Regions from separate parts of the Homo sapiens genome. Here region 1 is linked to region 2. Evidence: promoter capture Hi-C in human tissues and cell types (Jung and others, 2019). All regions are on one chromosome and are shown on one strand. Each heading gives the region's core, a stretch centred on a gene start or on the middle of the fragment in contact. The rest is flanking DNA. Distances are from core to core; before and after follow the strand shown.

What was found. Contacts are between HindIII fragments. The study calls those that stand out against the background at their distance.
Region 1: a contact is called between a fragment that was not itself captured here and the fragment with the promoter of ZNF784 in region 2, in 1 of the 25 tissues and cell types used here (spleen).

The regions. Positions count from the first base shown.
Region 1 is chr19:55,011,820-55,014,519 of GRCh38, forward strand. It overlaps GP6 (glycoprotein VI platelet), which reads right to left. Exons shown (of 8, transcript NM_016363.5): 8 at 1,886-2,700. The region is part of intron 2 of GP6-AS1 (GP6 antisense RNA 1); the gene reads left to right. Among named protein-coding and RNA genes, the nearest start is that of GP6-AS1, 6.9 kb to the left of the region's middle. RefSeq lists an enhancer at 38-597. The HindIII fragment of the contact is 9,124 bases long and covers 1-2,700 here.
Region 2 is chr19:55,623,315-55,626,014 of GRCh38, forward strand. It overlaps ZNF784 (zinc finger protein 784), which reads right to left and starts at 1,252. Exons shown (of 2, transcript NM_203374.2): 1 at 1,170-1,252. The coding sequence starts at 1,247. RefSeq lists enhancers at 1,233-1,732, 1,483-1,632 and silencers at 1,233-1,282, 1,353-1,412. The HindIII fragment of the contact is 4,171 bases long and covers 1-2,700 here.

The DNA of each region.
Region 1 (2,700 bases), core at 201-2,700, 610 kb before region 2:
TTGAGGGACAGTGAGAGAGGTTGGAGAAGAGAGTAAGAAGAGGTCGCTTACCCAATTTAAACTTGGTGAGATGTTCCTTGGGCTGGTGGGTCTGAGGACCTGAGGTCGTAGGTGGATCTTTTTCACAGAGCAAAGAGCAAGACAGGGGATTGATCTCCCAAGGGAGGTCCCCCGATCCAAGTCACGGCACCAAATTTCATGTGCGTCCATGTGAAGAGACCACCAAACAGGCTTTGTGTGAGCAATAAAGCTTTTAATCACCTGGGTGCAGGTGGGCTGAGTCCGACAAGAGAGTCAGCGAAGGGGGATGGGGTGGGGCCGTTTTATAGGATTTGGGTAGGTAAAGGAAAATTACAGTCAAAGCGGGGTTGTTCTCTGGCGGGCAGAGTGGGGGTCACAAGGTGCTCTGTAGGGGAGCTTTTGAGCCAGGATGAGCCAGGAGAAGGAATTTCACAAGACAATGTCATCAGTTAAGGCAGTAACAGGCCATTTTCACTTCTTTTGTGGTGGAATGTCATCAGTTAAGGCAGGAACCAGCCATATGGATGTGTACGTGCAGGTCACAGGGGATATGATGGCTTAGCTTGGGCTCAGAGGCCTGACAGCACCTACCTAAAAAATTCCAATAGCACTAAAAGGGTGTGTACAAAATGCAGTGGCTGACTAACCATCTCCTCCATTGCTCCGCCTAAGAGACACCCACTTTTAGCTGTTTTCTTTAGGAACTTGTTAATATTAGGTTTCTAAAAACATGTAACCATGTGAATGAGCTTAGACTTACTGGATTCCTATCATAATAGGCGGGGCCTTAGTTATTCTACAGCGTTGTTCTTACTGTTTTTTCTCTTCCAATGTTTATCTCTATGTCTGCATATCAACATTCAGTATCACATTTTTTTTTTTTGAGACAGAGTCTCACTCTGTCACCCAGGCTGGAGTGCAGTGGCGCAATCTCAGCTCACTGCAGCCTCAGTCTCCTGAGTAGCTGGGACTACAGGCGTGTGCCACCACGACTGGCTAATTTTTGTATTTTTAGTAGAGACAGGGTTTCACCATGTTGGCTGAGCTGGTCTCGATCTCCTGACCTCGTGATCTGCCCACCTCAGCCTCCCGAAGTGCTGGGATTACAGGCATGAGCCACCACGCCCGGCCAGTATCACATGTTTATACCCACAGATATTCGCAGCCGAGAATTTTCGGGTAATATAACTTGCTTCTTTTATTTTTGTTGTTGTTATTGTTCCCCTAAAGTTTATATTTGTTTTTTATTTTTATTTTCTTTTGAGGCAGGGTCTCACTCTGTCACCCAGGTTTGACAGCAGTGGTGCAATCATGGCTCACTGCAGCCTCAACCTCCCCGGGCTCAGGTGATCCCCAACCTCAGCCTCCTGAGTACCTGAGAGTAGGCATGTGGTACCACACCCAGCTAATTTTTTATATTTTTTGTATATGAGACAAGGTTTCACCATGTTGCCCAGGCTGGTCTCGAACTCTTAGGCTCAAGCGATCCCGCCTCAGCCTCCCAAAGTGCTGGGATTACAGGTGTGAGCCACTGTGCCTAGGCTATACTGGTCTTTTTAAAATCTACTTAGTTTACTTGACCTCTAAAATTATTTTTCCTCTGTCTTCTGATAGCATCTCAGTATGATTTTCCACTATGTTAAGACGAGGAATTGACCCATTCTTACATTTGGAGGCTTCTCTAAGCAACTTTCCCATTCCCCCTTCACCCAAGCTGTGTGCTCACTAGCCCTGATTCACAGCCGTCGTCCTGGAACTTCTTGGTGCCATCCTTCTGTCTTTTCCCAAGTGACTCACCTACCTCAACCTCCCAAAGTGCCGGGATTACAGGCGTGAGCCACTGTGGCCAGCCATTCTTTTCCTTTTTTAAAACAATTTTTATCTTCTTTATTTTAAGTAGAGATGGGGTCTCACTATGTTGCCCAGGCTGGTCTTGAACTCCTGGGCTCAAGCGATCCTCCTGCCTTGGCCTCCCACAGTGCTAGGATTACAGACATGATCCACTGCACTTGGCCCAGTGGTACAGTTTTACACTCATTAGATGGTCAAGAAATGCCTAAACGCTATAATAAATATAGAACTTTACCTTGAGAAGACCTAACATTTCCTTCAGAAAGTAAATATGAGAGGGGTGGAGACGGTGCATTATCTTATTTTTATGATTTTAAAAATGTATACAGAATTGTACATATTTATGGGGTGGACAGCAATATTGCAGTACATGTATACAACGTGCTATGATCAAATCAGGGTAATTGACATATTCATCCCTGTATTTTTTGAGACAAAGTCAGGCTTCGTCACCCGAGCTAGAGTGCAGTGGTGTGATCTCAGCTCACTGCAACCTCTGCCTCCCAGGCTCAAGCCATTCTCCCACCTCAGCCCCCTGAGTTGCTGGGAGTATAGGGATGCACCACCACACCTGGCTAATTTTTGTGTTTTTTTGTTTTGTTGGTAGAGATGAGGTTTCACCATGTTGCACAGGCTGATCTTGTTTTCTAATGTGAAGGGAAGCGGGCAACGTGCTAGTTTTACACTAAGGAAAATGAATGACATACCCAAACTGCCTGCAAGACCCGTTCTGAGAGACGAAAGGAGATTTGTTAGACCGCAGTGGGAGATGGAGTGAGGGTGAGAGTTTCTGGGGAAAACCAGACAAGAGCACAGAGGGCCAAAGGG
Region 2 (2,700 bases), core at 2-2,501:
TGAGCCGCCGCGCCCGGCCCATCCTCCAGGATTCTGTTGTATCCTCATCAACATTTCCTCTCCTGTCCAAAATATATCATGGATCCCACCTTTTGTCCTCCACCCTAGTTAAAGCCCCATCACTTGGCGCCTCCAAAATTGAAAAACCCAAGGGCATCTCTGTTCCTATTTCTGCTGGCTTGTAACCCACCTCCCAGGAATAGCCTGAAGGTCTTTTGAAAATGTAAATCAGATCAAGTCATTTTTCGCACTCAAAACCCTCCAGTGGCTCCAAATGACTTATCCCAAATCGTCACTATAATATCTGTGGCGATGTAGCTCCACTTATCTCTCTGACCCCAGCTTAAACATAAGCCGGCACCCAGCTGACTTCTCTCGTCTAAATTTAGCTGCCCCACCCCTACTCTTGGCTCAATTTATAGAAATTGGCTCAATTTTTATTTCCTTTATAGAACATATCACAGTAACTCTCCTTTATTGTCTCTCTCCTCTCAAGAGACTGCAGGCTCCAAAAGAACACAACCCTTGTCTGTCTTGGTCACTTCTCTATTTACAGAGCCGAAGTAGGAGCTCAGTAAATGTTTGTTGAATGAATGAATGTCCTCAATTAGTCTAATTCTGAGTGGGGTAACGTGGAGGAAGTTCCAAAGTCACCTAGACCACCCACTTCTACCCCCAAATTCTCCCTTGGGCATTCGAGAAGCATCACTAAGACCCTTGAAGAATTATCCCCTACCCCGACATAGGTGCTCCAATCATAATCCCCCACGTTTTTCAGGGTCACCTTCCCAACCTTCTACCCTAGAATTAGCCCTAGAATTTATGAGGCCCCGCCCCTTACAAGGCTCCACCCAAATTATGCAAATTATCCCTGGTAAGCCCCCTTCCCTGGACCCAAACCCGTCCCACAAGACAACACCGTCCTCAGACTCCGCCCCCATCCAGGCCCCGCCCACCACCCATAGGTCCCTCCCCCACCCCGCCCACCATGACATAGTCTCCTCCCCTGCCCCGCCCCTCGCGAAACCACAAGAAGCCCCACCCCCAGGGCCATAGCACTAAATACCTCCCTCGCCCACCCCCTCATAGGCCACGCCCCGGACCCGCCCCCCACACTACGACCTCCTCCCACCTCGAGCCCCACGCCCAGGCCCCTTCCTTGCCCGCACCAGGTCCAGTGGCTCCTGGGATCGCGACTCCGGAGTCGGTGAGCTCCGACTCTGGGCCTCTGGGCGCGCAGCGGCCATCTTGTGCCCAAGCCCCGCCCCCAAGGCCAATGTTCGCTCTGAAAGGGGGTGGGGCTCGAACTGGCGTAAGAGCTACTGCGCAGGCGCAGTGCGGGGCTGCGAGGGGGCGTGGTGCAGCAGGGGGCGTGGCGGGGCGGGGCGTGGCGGCTGAGCCCGGGAGAATGTGAGTTGTTCCCTCTCTAATTACCTGTCTGTCCCTCCGAGGGTACGCTCTGTGTGGCGCTAGGATGCCTGTAACACCCTGGGAACAAATCCGAACGTTCCTTCTAAACCAACGCAGGCCGACTCGAGGCTCTGGCTGTCAGGGGAACCTCAGCAGAACTGAAGAAGCTTTGCTTTGTTTCCACGGTAAACGTTTTTGTGATTACCTCTGCACTGCTCATGACAACGTAATGACGCCAAGTTTATAAACGTCGGTGTAGGCCGGGTGCGGTGGCTCATGCCTGTATTCTCAGCTACTCGGGAGGCTGAGGTGGGAGGATCGCTTGAGGCCGGGAGGTCGAGGCTGCAGTGAGCCATGATCTCGCCACTGCATGCAGCCTGAGTGACAGAGACTCTGTCAAAAAAAAAAAAAAAAAAGGCAGTGTGGAGAAAAATATTCAGTAAACAGCAACACAGGTGGTCCTGGGAGGACGCAAAAACCCGCAAGCTGATGTTATGTTTGGGAGGAAAGAGCTCAAAAACGCGGGGTTTTCAGCAGCATCAAGGACGGGGCTCTTCTTAGCTGCCCCGTTTAGTCATTCTGGTGGTATCACCTTGGATAAGTCACTACACTTCTCTGGACCATTTCTCTTTCTTTTGTGTAGCACTGTAGAAGCATTGTGACAAACCACTGAGAAGAGACATGGAAGAGTTTGGAAACATCTTTAAATAGTTTTCTTGAAAGGGCAGGATAGGAGATACTTAAACATGATCCTAAGCATGATCATTTCATTCATAAATATATATGAAATTATATTTTGTGATATGTTGGTATAAAATAAAGATAAACACCACTTAGGCTGAATTATCTCCTCCTCCTCCTTTCTTCTTCTTTTATAGAGATGGGGATCTTGCTGTCTTGCCTTGCCCAGGCTGGTCTTGAACTCCTAGCCTTAAGCGATCCTTCTGCCTTGGTCTTCCAAAGCTATATTTCCCTTCTTTTCTTTTGATTTTAAAATAATTTTTTTTTTTTTGAGATGGAGTCTCACTCTGTCGCCCAGGCTGGAGTGCAGTGGCATGATCATGGCTCACTGCAACCTCTGCCTCCCGGGCTCAAGCGATTCTCCTGCCTCAGCCTCTTGAGTAGCTGGGATTACAGGTGCCCGCCACCATGCCCGGCTAATTTTTGTATTTTTAGTATATACAGGGTCTCACCATGTTGGCCAGGCTGGTCTCGAACTCCTGACCTCAGGTGATCCGCCCACCTCGGCCTCCCAAAGTGCTGGGATTACAGGTGTGAGCCACTGCGCCC